Regions from separate parts of the Homo sapiens genome. Here regions 2, 3, 4, 5 and 6 are each linked to region 1. Evidence: promoter capture Hi-C in human tissues and cell types (Jung and others, 2019). All regions are on one chromosome and are shown on one strand. Each heading gives the region's core, a stretch centred on a gene start or on the middle of the fragment in contact. The rest is flanking DNA. Distances are from core to core; before and after follow the strand shown.

Region 1 (2,556 bases), core at 31-2,530:
CGGGCTGGCGGGTCCCACGCGCGCCACCGCGCCCAACACGCACCTTCAACGCGCCCCGGGCCGGGCCCCTGGGGACTGCGTGGCCGGGTCCGAGGGGCACGAAACGCTCCTCGCCGTCCTCGTCGTCTTCGTCGCCGTCCACCACCTCGACGACCACCTCCTCGTCCTCCTCTTCCTCGTCGTCATCCTCCTCCTCCGCGCCCCCTCGGGGCTTCTCCTCCACACGCCCGAGCCCCCTCCGCCGCCTGCTCCCGCCCTCCTCGTCCTCGTCTTCCTCCCCTAGAAGCAGCAGCACCGGCGACGAGGCGGCGGCGGCGGCCCCGGTGGCCCGAGGGGGGCCGGTCCCGGCGCTGCGCGGCGGCGGCGGCAGCGGCGGCCTCCAGCTCTCCGGGGCGGGCGCCGGGGCCGGGCCCGGGACAGGGGGCGGGAGCCCGGGTAGGGCGGCTTCCTTGGCGGGCGCGGGCGCCGGCCCGGCAGGCTGCAGCGCGGCGCCCCCCCGGCGGCTGCCCAGGCTGGAGCGCTTGGCTAGACGCCGCGCCTGCATGCCTGAGCGCGGGGTTGCGGGCCGCGGCGCGGGGCCGGAGAGTTTGTCACCTCCTCTTCCTCCTCTGCCTCCGCCGGTGGCCGCAGGGCCGGGGACTCGCGGCCGCAAGGGGCTGCAGGAGCCGCCGGCCAGGACCCGCGGCTGCCACTGGCTGCAGAGGCGCGGGCGCCGCCTTCGCTGGACCGGCCGGCGGGGACGCCGGCGGCCGGCGGCTACGGCGGGGCGGCGCGGCGGCCGCGGGCGGGGGTGGGTGTGAGCGAGCGGCGCGCTGCCGCCTCCGCCGCCGCCGCCGCCGCCCGGGAGCCGCGGGCCGCGCTGCGCTCCATGCGGCCGGCGGCCGAGCCCGCGCGCGCCTCTCCCGGCCGGCTGCGCCCGCGCGCTCCGGGCCTACCGCTGCCGTGCCTCGGCGCGAGCTGTTTGTGTTGTATGTTTTCCACCACCGCCCCCCTCTTCGCGAGCCATTCCTCACAACCCTCCGGTCCCCCCGCTCAGACAAAACCCGGACTGGATTTTTTTTTTCTCTTACCCACAGTCTCCGAAAGTCTGGCGCTTCGAAGCAGTTGGCCCTGACACCAGGGCAAACGCTTAACCGCAGCCCATTCTTCCCTCCGGAGGGAGGGGAGTAGACTTCGCTGGAAGTAAGGTTGTCTGTCAAAGTTAGACTTTGAACGTAGAGATTTGCTACAAGTCATTTTAATGGACACTGATGTGCATGGCAGCTACTCCTGAGCTTGTGTGAAATCAAGGAAGGTGTACCAATCTGAGGTTTGGGATGAATTCCTAATATGAATCATCAGAGTCGCTTAGATTTTCGAAACACTGTTTCATGAGCGATTGTCTACCAATCTCACACTCTTTGAACGCACCACTCTAGGCCCTGCGATTGAGCTGCCTTGGCTCTGTGCTGAGTGTGTAGGTCTTTCAGCTTTTACTCCTGCTATTCTACCTTGAGTGCCTGATTTTAATGGCTGAATTCCAAGAAGCTTTCTGTTTGCACTGTCTGATCTGTAGACTCTCTTCTGGCATTGTTCAGGACTTTGAAGAAACAAATGGGTGGGAGTTCAAGATCGTTTGAGTTGGTTACTTAAGAAATTAATATGAAGTAAGACCAAATCTGGAAATCAAGCACATAACATGACTAATTTTGCCATTTTCTGACGATTTTTAGGTGTGATAAAGAAAATATATTTGCTATTGCGTGGGGTTAGGCTATGTAGTAAGTGGTATTTCTTCTTTTATTTATTTTAATTTTTATTTATATATATTTCTTTATTTTTCAGATGGAGTTTCGCTCTTGTTGCCAAGGCTGGAGTGCAATGTCATGGTCTGGGCTCACTGTAACCTCCGCCACCTGGGTTCAAGCGATTCTCCTGCCTCAGCCTCCTGAGTACCTGGGATTAAAGGCGCGCTCCACCATGCCATGCTAATTTTGTATTTTTCGTAGAGACAGGGTTTCACCATGTTGGCCAGGCTGGTCTCAAACTCCTGACCTCAGATGATTTGCCTGCCTTGGCCTCCCAAAGTGCTGGGATTACAGGTGTGAGCCACCGTGCCCGGCCTTAAGTCGTATTTCTTACATTCAAATCATACCCCCAATTCCATCCCTGTAGAGGAGGGCTGGGGAGGATCTTACGCATCAAATACCCTGGTAGGCACCTCCGTGGGGCCAGAATAAAAGGTGTATTCACCTTCAGTTAATTATTGTTGGACATTTAACATCATATGCTCTGTTAGACACTTGAATGGGGCTCATTAAATGCTCACTTATGGTGGCTTCCAACTGTTGAACAGGGATGATGACAAAGATTCTAAAATGAACTTTTTGTTCTCCCTGAATCAGATTAGCTTCCTGATGTACCTATTTCAGGTGATGAAACTCTCATTATAATCATTTGAGCCCAAAATAGCGGTATCATTTTAACTCCCTTCTCTACCTTATCCCTAGAGGCAATTGCCCACAAGTCCAACCCATTGTTCTTTCTAAAATGCATTTTGAATCCACCCCTTCCTTT
Region 2 (2,556 bases), core at 20-2,519, 250 kb after region 1:
AGCTTTATCTAAATGGCAAACACTGACAGAAATAATTATTTCCTGGAGTCTTAAGTTTACACACAGTTGGGACGCAGTCTCTGAGACAAAGCAGGTGATTTTTGTGGCCATTTCGCAGTTAAGTGAAATAGTCATGGCCCTTCTGTTCTACCTCTGGATGGGGCCTTTTTCCCAAAAGACACCAGGTAGATGTTGATGTGCATCTGTTCCGTACAAGCTCTGGTACATGTATGCTCTTGATTGAGAGACAGACTTGACTTTTCAAGAAAAGCTCTCAGAGATTGGCCTGACTTTGATTATTACAAGGGCATTTAATTTCAGGGAAGTCCAGAACAGTTCTTTTTTGAGATCCACCTATAGTAATTATAAACTTCTTGATTTCCAGAACAGTTCGTTAGCCAATCTGGACTCTTCTAGATTAGGGATGATATGGTCCACTCTAGGACCACCCTTCTGGGGCCACAGGAGAATTGAAGGAGGCTTGGTTAGGAAACAGTGACTTTGGTTAGGGAGTTCTGTGTCTGCTTCAATAAGAACTCCAAAGCACATTTTTCTTTTTTCACAAGGAGGCAAGCTAATAGTGAGATTCAGCCCTTTGCACAGTGGTCAACATGTGGGCTCTGGGGGAAGGTGCCCTAGGTTTATATGCCTCCTCTGACAGGCACTAGTATCTTTGTTAAGTTGCTCACCCTTTCTATATCTCAAGTGTCCTTGTTTTAAAATGTAGCAATGGCTTATCTTATTTAGTATTTAATAATATGTGAAATACGTATGCTAATCATAAACCTAATGGTTTTTAAACACTGGCATAGTCTCTGGAACCTATGAAATGCTCAAATCAGTACCGCTATATAGTACTTTGCCTATGCCAGGTGCTGCCTGTGCACTTTGTATCTGTAACTCATTTAATTTTCACAAAGGCAGGAGGAGATGCACCCATTCTCATTTTACAGATAAAGAAACTGAGGCACATACAGGCCAAGTAACCTGTCCAAGATCACACAGCTAATAAGTAGATTACTTCTATACATTTTAACCAGGCCATGTGGCTCCAGGTCATGTACTAAGTCACTATTTTCTTCTGCTTGTCCAGTAAATAAATACAATATTTTATTATTGTTGTTCTCCTTCCTGTCAGTTTTTTCAACTCTGTGACACAGCAATGACCTCTGCTCCTTCAGGCCGTTTGTCCCAGGAAAAGCAGCAGCTGACTCTTCCTCTTAGTGAGCCACTGTGATCCATGCCAAGCCATTTGCCACTCTCATGATTCCCAAGATGAAGGGGAAATGGTAGCAGGAAGGGCCAAAAGTCTGCGTAGATGGAGTTATACTTCTGCTTAGATTCTGGTACTCTCCTAGCTACATAAACTCGAGATTTTCTTTGGGCTTTAATTTCCTAACTTACAAAATGCCAGACTCCAACTGGAACATTTCTATGCATTTTCCATATCTAGAATTGCACAATGGATAGTGTATTTACTTAAACTTAACAAACATTTACTGAATACCTGCTCAATGCAGAGCATTATGTTCTTTGCTGTGGACAGAAAAAGAAATGAATAAATAGAAGCCACGCTCACAACCACAAGGAATTTTTATCTAGGATGGCGGGCAACAGTATAAGTAACCATGATGGAACACCCTATGTGAATTGGGAAGACCTGGGTTCAAATATCATTTTCTGTTTCATAACTGTGTATCACCTTAGACAAATTATTATTTTAACCTTAATTTTCTCATTTGTAAAATAGGCTCGATAATACTTTTCTCATGAGATTTGGATCATTGATTGTACTTGTAAATGTTCTTAAAAGTATTCAAAGAATGCTTTCGAAAATACATTACTGAAAAGAAAGAATATAGGGATATCAGCAAGAAGAATATATACTATGAGAATTTAAAACTGTATATGGGATCATGGACTAAATTAATTTCCTTCCACCATTTTCAACATAACTAAGCAAGATTTCAGATTGCAATATGCATCGTAAACGGCATAAGGATTTAAAATCTAGACACCAAACAAAAATTTTTCATTAAGCCCTCTTTTAACTCACAACCCACAGAAATCACCATATGCTTTTGGTGGAAGATGTGTTTCTACTCATGCATGGTTTGTGTGAGGTCTTTTGTGAAGATGGCCAAGGATTGTACAAGTTGCCTGCTATCTCAAAATCCAAATTTCTGTAAGAGGCAGCAACATGTATAGGAGTAAAATAAATAAATAAAATGTATTTTTCAATGGTAAGCAAAAAGAGAAGAAGCCTTTCTTTTCCACACTTGATATTTTCTTCCACGTAAAAGGGTATTGACTAGCATAAAATGCATGGAGCCTCTTCTCCTGCTTACTCGTTCCTACCCAGAGAGGGTGACTCAAACCAATAGGCTGGGTTGAAAGAAGAAACAGGGCATGTACAGCCTGCATCCTCTTCTTCTCATTTCTACACTGCTCCTTCTCTCCTGTTTGCATTACAGAGCTGGGTCTGCTCCTGAAGAGGGAGACGTGGCTTGGTGCAGTGCTCCCTGCAGCAGAGAAGAGGAGCCAGCCTATCTCTAT
Region 3 (2,556 bases), core at 24-2,523, 240 kb before region 1:
CTGATGTAAGATAGAGTTTAAAATAACTTAGTCCATCTAAATGAAGGAAGCAACTTCTAATTTTTTTCATGACATAATTTATTCTCATTTTGCTTTCCCCTCAAAGATGCTAGGGTTTTGTATGTGGAAAAACCTCCTTTTGAGGTTAGTGGACACTCTGAAATAGCCTAAATGCCTACCAGTTCTGAAGCAAGGCTTCTGCTGTATCAGAGGTGAAGCAGTGGTAATTTTACTTGGTAACGAAGACTCATGAGGCCGGATGGAGAGGGAAGGAGTGTGGGGAGGCTGGCCAAGGGCTTTGGCACAAGGAGGCAATGTGTGCTCGCTTCAAGCTTCAGAGGCTCCTGGCAGCCTTCTCGGAAGGCACGAGGCTGCTCTTTGCCAGCCCCTCATCACAGTGGCCACGGTAGAAAACACTAAGAAAATTAGGATAACAGTGATTCAACACTTTACGGGGCACAGCCTGGGCATGCCAAAAGGAGGCAGAGTGAGAGAGCTGGATAACTCAGCGTATCTATATTCAAGTCTGCCATGAGAATGATATCTGGGGAGAAATGATCTCTTTCCCCTCTTTTATTTTAGTTGCCCAGATAGTGCCGACATGTGAGTTTGTGGGGCTGATGGATGAACCTGACCTGACAACTGTGGAATGTGAAATCCACTTTTCCCAATAGTTGAAACTGGGGGCTGCAGGCTGCACCTGTCTGTGTACAGCTTCTCTTTGGTCTGCACAGTGTTGGCCAAGAGTTTGAGTTAGTTGTCAACACTTACGTGTCAGGTAATATCATACTTCCACGTCAGAAGATCTAGCAGCCCTGGGCCTGATTTCTGCATGGTTCTGATTGTCTAGAGCTGAGTGTGGGCACCCCTTCAAAGAGGGCATGTGTTCTGCAGTTCAACCTGGTCTCCACCATTCTTGTGTTCCTCTTTGCCTTATCCACATCAATCATTTACAGAACTTGCCTGGTCCTTCTGAGGCACTGACATTTGCAACCTCTCCTATATAGAATTAGGAATCTTTTGGAAATGAGACTCATTGGGTTCAAAACCGTACAGCAATAAAAACTTCTTGGGGACTTTAATGCTAACAATGGAGACATTCCAAGGAGTGAAAACAGAGATTTGCAAGACGCCTCATCTCAAAGACTAGGAGCCAAGCCTGTACATGGCTTTCCCTAACTCTGTGCATTTCTAGTCCTCAAGTGTGCAGATTCTAAAGCCTATTTGAAACCAAGGTCTGAGTGACCTTCTGACCACCTCATAAGAGCTGCCCAACGGGTGTATGGCTGTTCTATCTCAGCTTTGCTTTTGATGTTATCTGCATACTTGGCTAATTAGGCTAGCTTTTGGATTACTAAAATCTTAGAAAGAAAAGGTGCTTTCTTGTTTTAACAGTGAGTGGGCTTGAAAAAACTGTACAGCATTATGAAATGGTTTTGGCAAAGCTCTGAATTATTTGTACAGTTTTAATAAACTCTTCACAACTCCCCTCTGTTTCCTGGTTCTTGGGAACTCAGTCACTTTCTGATCACAACCTCATGTGCCTGCTAGTTCTTCACAGTGAAAAATCAAGCACTTGTTCTTTTTGTTTTGTTTTTTTATTTTCCTTTTTTATTTTTTCCCTCCACTATATTTTGGAAGCACTTGTTCTTATGTAGAAATTACAGTTATATAGTTAGTGCTGAGGACAAAATTATTTTAAACACTACTGATCACCTAAGAATTCTATCTTTGGGCCTGTCTACTATGATTTTAGAAATTTCCACCAAATGATACTTGCTAGTTAAATGCAAGTATCTGTGATTCTGGTAGGTCAAGTGGTAAACTTGTCTTTGTGACACAGAATTTATCATTTTACACTAAAAAATTTATAAGAATATTTCTCCCATGGCCTATAAGCATACCTGTTAACACTTTTTAGATTTAAAATATATAAAATGACTCTTCAGGCATCTTTTTCCATACTTTGAAAACACACTAGTAATGGTAAAAGGAGTAGCTGTTGCTATCTTGATTCTCCTATAATACCCATTCCATCTGATCTGTATTTCTACCCTTGCTGCAGAGGGTTAATTAAAAAGATATGCATCAAAACATTTGCTTAAAAGAGACATAGCCCTTTGTTTGGTGAGCAAGAATTACTTATAATATTAATACTTCCTGCCTGGTAAAATACTATATTTTAAAAAATAAGCTACAATGTATAAAACCAAGGTCATTTCTCACAAAATGTCTGCGTTCTTTGTGATTACAAAACACTGCATCTTGTAAAATATTTCCAGTTAACTTGAGAAGTAGAGTACTGACGCTTATTACCAAAGTGTCATGTCTCTTAGAACTGTAGAAGCCTAATCAGTGTATTTCTTGTTTTATTTGGAAAATTAAGTTATAATTGTTTTTGTATTTAAAGGTTATGTTTTGCCAAGACATATTACCATTGTGATTCTCAGACCCACAACAAAAGTTATAAAACATGAGATTGTCTTCAAAAAAAGGAACTATTTACAAAACAGGACCAGAAGTAAAATTCCCATTTTGGTTCCTGGTCCTACGATA
Region 4 (2,556 bases), core at 22-2,521, 220 kb before region 1:
CAATCCTAAATAGGGAGGAGCCGCTTTCTCTGACCCATTATACAGTGCTTAGACACAGTAAAGGCAGCAATGATGGTAGGAAATCTGCATTGTCAGCTACATGCCAGGCACTGTGTGAACGACACAACTCTAAGAGGTAGAACTAGAGTAGAGGATATTACTTTAGAAGGATCACATGGCGTTCACAAATGCCAGAGCCAGGATTTGCAAGTAAGCCTCACACTAAAGATGCTGTGCCCTTCTGTAAGTATGCAGGAGAAATTTCTTTTCTTGTAAGTTTTTCTCTTAAGAGGGAGGAAAAAAAGGCCTCTGGCTTGGTTTTAACCTCATATAATTCTGAATCTTCCCTCAAGGCATTAAAAAAGAAACCTCAAACCAGCTAAGCATTTGACAAATAAGCACTGCTATTTCAGCTTTGGAGACCCTCCCCAACAGCCTGAAGCCTCCTAGAACTTGGATAGCAGGTTGACTAGCTTATACTTGCTTTCCTAGGGGCTGTTATAGATCGAATGTTTGTGTCCCTCAAATTCATATGATAAAGCTCTAATCCCCAGTGTGGTTGTATTTGGACATAGGGCCTTTAAGGAGGTCATAAGGGTGGGGCCCTGACCCAACAGGATTAGTGTCCTTTAAGAAGGGATAGCAGAGGCTGGTGCATTCCTCCATGCTTGCTCTCCCTGGCTTGCCAGTGCCCTGGCATGTGCTTGTGCTCTCTCTCTCGATTTCTCTCTCTCTCTCTTTCTCTCTCGACTGTGCATGCACAGTGAGAAGGCAGCCATCTACAAGCAGGAAGGGGTCTTCACCAGAACTGAATTGGCCGACACGTTGATTTGGACTTCTAGCCTCTAGAACTGTGAGAAAATAAATTTCTGTTGTTTAAGCTGCCAAGTCTGTGGTATTTTATGGCAGTCTTGAGCTGATTAATAAAGGGGCCAACGGCTCTTAGTTTTCTGTCATGAAAAGAGAGAGAAAGAAATGGAGATAATTAGGAGAGAAGGCAGGTCATTAGGGAAAAACATGTCAAAGAAAGTTGTAATTAAGGATGTTCTCTTTCCTACCCCTCTCCCCACAGCCTTAGGCTACAAAAGACTGAACTTCCAGTTACATTTGTTAAATATGCAGTTCAGCCTTCTCAGCTACACACCTCCGGGAAGAGGTCTTACCCAGGGAACTTATTAAAGTCCAATGTTCAGGAAATCTAGCATAGGCAAATGAATAAATAAAATCCTGCAACCCTTGGGATTTTTCAGAAAGGGGTTTTTCTCACTTTCTAGGAAGTGTACAAAAGTATCCCTCTTCAATACCACGTCTCAAAGATGTGGGAGAAAAGTGAACTCTAAACAGGGTTGACAACCTCAGGGTATTTATTTTAGAGTACAAGGATAAAGGTATTTTTTTTTTGAAAAGCATTTTATCACATGAATATTTCTCTGTTCTTCAGTTTGGACACAATTGAAGCCATCACTAATACAAATTCATTATAACTTACAACTTTTAGAGCTTTGGTCTGAAAACCCTATTACACCAATTTAGAGGGTAAGAATTCACGTTTTTAAATTCTACGTGGCTTGCCTGGCACTCCTGGAGCATTCAGGGACAGCTGCTGGCATGCTGTCCGTGGGTGTACAACAGTCCTGCATCTGTGTGGGTGGGCTGTTATGAGAGCTAGCCCACCAGGAGAAGGAGGAGGAGGAGGACAGCAGCACCTGCTTGTTTTTTTTAGAGCATGGCCAGAGAGTTTAGCAACAAAAAGAACATTCTTAGTTGTAGCCTTCTTGTCTTTCTAGGGTAAAACAAAAACCTTTGAAAATTCCACCCCACCCTTACTTTATCTTTAAATAGGAATGGCAAGCTTGACTGCTAAAATCAGTCTAAAGTCTTTGCTGAAACAGGTTACACAATCAGCACAATTGGGAATTCTCTGGTGAAAGAATAAATTAGAAGCTCTCAGCTGGGCGCAGTGGCTCAAGCCTGTAATCCCAGCACTTTGGGAGGCTGAGGTGGGCAGATTGCTTGAGCTCAGGAGTTCAAGACCAGCCTGGGCAACATGGGAAACCCCCGTATCTACTAAAAATACAAAAATTAGCCAGGTGTGATGGTGTGCTTCTGTAGTCCCAGCTACTCAGGAGGCTGAAGTGGGGAAGATGAGCCCAGGGAGGTTGAGGCTGCAGTGAGCCGTGATGGCACCACTGCACTCTAAGCCTGGGTCATGGACTGAGACCCTGTTTCAAGAAAAAAAAAAAAAAAAAGCTCACATAGGATTTTAGTGGAATACCTACTTAACCCAGCTATGGTATGTTTTATATATCATATATACGGAATGTTTTATATATCGTATATATGGTATGTTTTATATATCATATATATACTTTCTGTCAAAGCTTTTGTCTAGAATGTCCCAGGTAATCAACACAGAGTGAAATGAGGGATTCTGTAAAAAATCAAGGGCACTGAGATGAGGGTAGAAATACACAGTGTCCATAGCAGAGTTTTAACATTCTATTGTTGAAAAACGAGTGATATAAGGTATCCTGGCTGGTATCCTAGTGTGTAAGA
Region 5 (2,556 bases), core at 29-2,528, 150 kb before region 1:
TAATATTTGAAGATACAGTACTATGTCATATTTGACATGCTCTTGTGAAACCAGTTCAAATAACTGAATGATACTAATAACAAAACTACAAAGTTTTCTTCCCATTAAAAAGGGAATAAAATTAAAGCTGAATAGTGTCATTCCAGTAATATATAATATTTATCAAAAGATAAATGAATTTTAAAAGCTCCTCAATCTCATTAAGTCATGGTTTTAAGACAATTTTATTTTTTGTATTCACTTCTTCATCAGACTTTTAATTAATACATGTTGTGTTGATCAAATATCCACTACTAGTAACTGTAAGTATAACTCATACCAGAAAAAAACGTTAAACCGTCAGGATTATATAGTCAAAGGAAATGCAAAGTATTTTAACTGAAATTTACAAATGTGTTTTAGAGAAGTATGTGATTGGTAAAAAAACATTGAAATCATAAATAGGATAAAGTTCTGCGGAGAAAGTGAAATGGAAAATGAGTTAAAACAAAAAGAAACAAGTAAAATTTCTGCCAGTTAAAAAAGAGCTTATTTGTGTATTTTTAAAAATGGATGATGGTGAGAATCAAATCTCTATGGTATTTAGATTCCACTGGATAACCTTAAAAGTAATACTATATTTTTTTAGTTAAAATATCAATATTACATCCTTTTCAACTATTTAGACCTAAAATGTAAAAATCTAAGATGTCAACTTTAAAATGCGAGAGGGTACATGGTTTTCAAAATCCTTGCAGAGGATTCATGAGCAAAAAGTTTGAAGACCACCAATCTAGAACAGCCTGTCAGCTGTTAATTTTGGGCAACAGAATGGAAAACACTGGTTAATCCAGGGAGCCGACTGATAGATGTTCAACTGTTCCAACATTTCAAATGACCTTTAGCACTATTAGTTAGTTGTTAATGAGGGAAATGCTATTTGGTGGTGGCTCACACTGATTCTCATCAGCTTTTACACTTTCTAAAACCATTACAAGCCTTTTAGGTGGAACTGTATTATATTTACGCAAGTAATGTATACAAAAATGGTGTTGTTTTGAAGATTCTTAGATGGGATTACTTTTTCATAGTATGTCATCATCAATAATTATCTGGTGATGCTGGGACTTTTGTGATATTTTTTCTTCTATGCAATTCAAAGTACTTTCTCCATTATATTCAATTAGTCTTTAACAAATTCTGATGAAATATGTAGGAGGTAGTTTGACAGAGGTTAAGTGATACTCCTTTAGGGAGTCAAAGATGGTGTCAATAATAAATCAAATAAAACCCATGACTCTTCCTATCTATAAAAACATTCTGGATGCAGAACAGCAAGGTCATGTTAATAACTCAAAGTTTCTTCTTTAAAGCTCATGCTGGGTTTAAGCTCATCCAACCATATACCTTTTCTTTAGTTCACTTATGACAAATATATATCTGCGAACTGGCATTTCCCAAGCCCCTGTCTATTTTAATTGTATACACTATTCCTGGCATGTCTTTAACTCTCGATACTCACGGATGATTCCCCCAAATGTCTCTCCAGTCCAGACCTTCTAAAACTGTACTCCTGCCTGCCATTAATGAAACCTTCACTAAATGGTTGTAGAAGCCAGAAACTTAGGAGTTGTCAGGCTTCGTTCCCCTTCTTTCCTCCTTATACCCGACTGAACCCAAGTTCTACTGATTTTACTTCAACAAATCCCTAAAATCCTTCTCCATTCTGATTTTTCACCACCACTGCCTAATTCAGGCACTCATTGTCTCTCTGCCGAGTCCTTCCCCTCAAAACGATAACCCCTTAACTGATTTCCCTGCCCTAGTCTCTGCTCCATTCATTCTGCGCCCCACAATGCCGTTCAAGCAGTCTCTTCAGAAGTTAAATAAAATCATGCCATTCCAGGTCTGAACAATTTCCAGTGGCTCTCCACTGTTTATCATTTAAAGGCAGATTTCTAAGTGTGGTTTATAAAGTGTTTATGACCTACTCTCTATCTACTTTTAGAGCAACACCTCCTACCCCTTCACCAAAGTGCAAATGCTAAATCCTAGGACTTGAAGAATAAGACATAGTGTTTGTGTTACAAAGTGGTAGGGAGACACATACATATCACTATGAAATGTTAGGGCACTTAAATATTTTATTAGAGGTTCCAGCAAAGTACTGTGGTAGGAGGGCAGAAGGAGTATAGTGGGGAAGGCTTTCTGGAAAAAAGGCCAGTCCTTGAAGGGTTTCCTTAGGTTAAATTGTCAGATAAAACCCAGGACTTCCAATTAAATTTTCATCTCAGATAAATAACAAACAAAATTTTTGTATAAGTATATCCCATACAATATTGGAACATAAACAATGACCATAGATTTTTAGTTTATGTTAAATTCAATTTTCAGTGGGCCTCCTGTATTTTTATTTACTTAATACAGCAGCCCTACATCACGTATATGGAATTAAGAACAAGAAGAACATGGACACGAAAACACAAAGATTATGCCAAATTGTCTAATGCATTTGGAGTCTCAGATACATAGGGGATGGGGAAAAGAGGAAGTTATGGGAGACGATGCTGGAAAAGT
Region 6 (2,556 bases), core at 27-2,526, 130 kb before region 1:
GGAAGAGCTGGGCAAACTGAATGCTAATAGGGCTTGCTTCCAGTGCGGTCTACAAGGACACTTTAAAAAAGATTGTCCAAATAGAAATAAGCCGCCCCCTCGTCCATGTCCCTTATGTCAAGGGAATCACTGGAAGGCCCACTGCCCCAGGGGATGAAAGTCCTCCGAGTCAGAAGCCACTAACCAGATGATCCAGCAGCAGGACTGAGGGTGCCCGGGCCAAGTGCCAGCCCATGCCATCACCCTCACAGAACCCCGGGTATGCTTGACCATTGAGGGTCAGGAGGTTAACTGTCTCCTGGATGCTGGCACGACCTTCTCAGTTTTACTCTCCTGTCCCAGACAACTGTCCTCCAGATCTGTCACTATCCAAAGGGTCCTAGGACAGGCAGTCACTAGATACTTCTCCCAGCCACTAAGCTGTGACTGGGGAACTTTATTCTTTTCATATACTTTTCTAATTATGCCTGAAAGCCCCACTCCCTTGTTAGGGAGAGACATTCTAGCAAAAGCAGGGGCCATTATACACCTGAACATAGGAGAAAGAACATCCATTTGTTGTCCCCTGCTTGAGGAAGGAATTAATCCATCCTGAAGTCTGGGCAACAGAAGGACAATATGGACGAACAAAGAATGCCTGTCCTGTTCAAATTAAACTAAAGGATTCTGCCTCCTTTCCCTACCAAAGGCAGTACCCTCTTAGACCCAAGGCCCAACAAGGACTCCAAAAAATTGTTAAGGACCTAAAAGCCCAAGGCCTAGTAAAACCATGCAATAGCTCCTGCAATACTCCAATTTTAGGAGTACAGAAACCCAACAGACAGTGGAGGTCAGTGCAAGATCTCAGGATTATCAATGAGGCTCTTATCCCTCTATACCCAGCTGTACCTAACCCTTGTACTCTGCTTTCCCAAATACCAGAGGAACCAGAGTGGTTTACAGTCATGGACCTTAAGGATGCCTTTTTCTGCATCCCTGTACATCCCAACTCTCAATTCTTCTTTGCCTTTGAAGATCCTTCAAACCCAACGTCTCAACTCACCTGGACTGTCTTATCCCAAGGGTTCAGGGATAGCCCCCATCTATTTGGCCAGGCATTAGCCCAAGACTTTAGCCAGTTCTCATACTTGGACACTCTTGTCCTTTGGTACGTGGATGATTTACTTCTAGCCGCCCATTCAGAAACCTTGCTCCATCAAGCCACCCAAGCGCTTTTAAACTTCCTTGCCACTTGTGGCTACAAGGTTTCCAAACCAAAGGCTCAGCTCTGCTTACAGCAGGTTAAATACTTAAGGCTAAAATTATCCAAAGGCACTAGGGCCCTCAGTGAGGAATGTATCCAGCATATACTGGCTTATCCTCATCCCAAAACCCTAAAGCAACTAAGAGGGCTCCTTGGCATAACAGGCTTCTGCCGAATATGGATTCCCAGGTATGGCAAAATAGTCAGGCCATTAAATACACTAATTAAGGAAACTCAGAAAGCCAATACCCATTTAGTAAGATGGACACCTGAAGCAGAAGCGGCTTTCCAGGCCCTAAGGAAGGCCCTAACCCAAGCCCCAGTGTTAAGCTTGCCAACGGGGCAAGACTTTTCTTTATATGTCACAGAAAAAAAATAGGAATAGCTCTAGGAGTCCTTACACAGGTCTGAGGGACCAGCTTGCAACCTGTGGCATACTTGAGTAAGAAAATTGATGTAGTGGCAAAGGGTTGGCCTCATTGTTTACAGGTAGTGGCAGCAGTAGCAGTCTTAGCCTCCGAAGCAGTTAAAATAATACAAGGAAGAGATCTTATGTGTGTGGACATCTCATGATGTGAACAGCATACTCACTGCTAAAGGAGACTTGTGGCTGTCAGACAACCATTAGCTTAAATATCAGGCTCTTATTTGAAGGGCCAGTGCTGCGACTGCGCACTTGTGCAACTCTTAACCCAGCCACGTTTCTTCCAGACAATGAAGAAAAGATAGAACATAACTGTCAACAGGTGATTGCTCAAACCTACGCCGCTCGAGGGGACCTTCTAGAGGTTCCCTTGACTGATCCCAACCTCAACTTGTATACTGATGGAAGTTCCTTTGTGAAAAAAGGACTTCAAAAAGTGGAGTATGCAGTGGTCAGTGATAATAGAATACTTGAAAGTAATCCCCTCACTCCAAGAACTAGCATTCAGCTGGCAAAACTAATAGCCCTCACTCGGGCATCAGAATTAGGAAAAGGAAAAATGGTAAATATATATACAGACTCTAAGTATGCTTACCTAGTCCTCCATGCCCACACAGCAATATGGAGAGAAAGGGAATTTCTAACTTCCGAGAACACCTATCAAACATCAGGAAGCCATTAGGAGATTATTATTGGCTCTACAGAAACCTAAAGAGGTGGCAGTCTTACACTGCCGGGGTCATCAGAAAGGAAAGGAAAGGGAAATAGAAGGGAACCGCCAAGCGGATATTGAAGCCAAAAGAGCTGCAAGGCGGGACCCTCCATTAGAAATGCTTATAGAAGGACCCCTCTTATGGGGTAACCCCCTCCAGGAAACCAAGCCCCAATA

What was found. The method cuts DNA at HindIII sites, captures the fragments that hold promoters and counts their contacts. A contact is called where the count stands out against the background at its distance.
Region 2: a fragment that was not itself captured here is called in contact with the fragment with the promoter of ZNF704 in region 1 in 1 of the 25 tissues and cell types used here (spleen).
Region 3: a contact is called between a fragment that was not itself captured here and the fragment with the promoter of ZNF704 in region 1, in 2 of the 25 tissues and cell types used here (dorsolateral prefrontal cortex and thymus).
Region 4: a contact is called between a fragment that was not itself captured here and the fragment with the promoter of ZNF704 in region 1, in 3 of the 25 tissues and cell types used here (dorsolateral prefrontal cortex, heart right ventricle and hippocampus).
Region 5: a fragment that was not itself captured here is called in contact with the fragment with the promoter of ZNF704 in region 1 in 2 of the 25 tissues and cell types used here (dorsolateral prefrontal cortex and hippocampus).
Region 6: a fragment that was not itself captured here is called in contact with the fragment with the promoter of ZNF704 in region 1 in 1 of the 25 tissues and cell types used here (neural progenitor cells).

The regions. Positions count from the first base shown.
Region 1 is chr8:80,873,501-80,876,056 of GRCh38, forward strand. It overlaps ZNF704 (zinc finger protein 704), which reads right to left and starts at 1,281. Exons shown (of 9, transcript NM_001033723.3): 1 at 1,071-1,281. RefSeq lists a silencer at 1-160. The HindIII fragment of the contact is 4,011 bases long and covers 1-2,556 here.
Region 2 is chr8:81,122,011-81,124,566 of GRCh38, forward strand. No RefSeq gene overlaps it. Among named protein-coding and RNA genes, the nearest start is that of PAG1, 11 kb to the left of the region's middle. The HindIII fragment of the contact is 6,141 bases long and covers 1-2,556 here.
Region 3 is chr8:80,633,798-80,636,353 of GRCh38, forward strand. ZNF704 (zinc finger protein 704) reads right to left here. Exons shown (of 9, transcript NM_001033723.3): 9 at 1-2,556. Among named protein-coding and RNA genes, the nearest start is that of LINC02986, 95 kb to the left of the region's middle. The HindIII fragment of the contact is 4,995 bases long and covers 1-2,556 here.
Region 4 is chr8:80,655,462-80,658,017 of GRCh38, forward strand. All of the region lies in intron 7 of ZNF704 (zinc finger protein 704), which reads right to left. Among named protein-coding and RNA genes, the nearest start is that of LINC02986, 120 kb to the left of the region's middle. The HindIII fragment of the contact is 3,193 bases long and covers 1-2,556 here.
Region 5 is chr8:80,723,032-80,725,587 of GRCh38, forward strand. The region is part of intron 2 of ZNF704 (zinc finger protein 704); the gene reads right to left. Among named protein-coding and RNA genes, the nearest start is that of ZNF704, 150 kb to the right of the region's middle. The HindIII fragment of the contact is 8,276 bases long and covers 1-2,556 here.
Region 6 is chr8:80,739,730-80,742,285 of GRCh38, forward strand. The region is part of intron 2 of ZNF704 (zinc finger protein 704); the gene reads right to left. Among named protein-coding and RNA genes, the nearest start is that of ZNF704, 130 kb to the right of the region's middle. The HindIII fragment of the contact is 4,616 bases long and covers 1-2,556 here.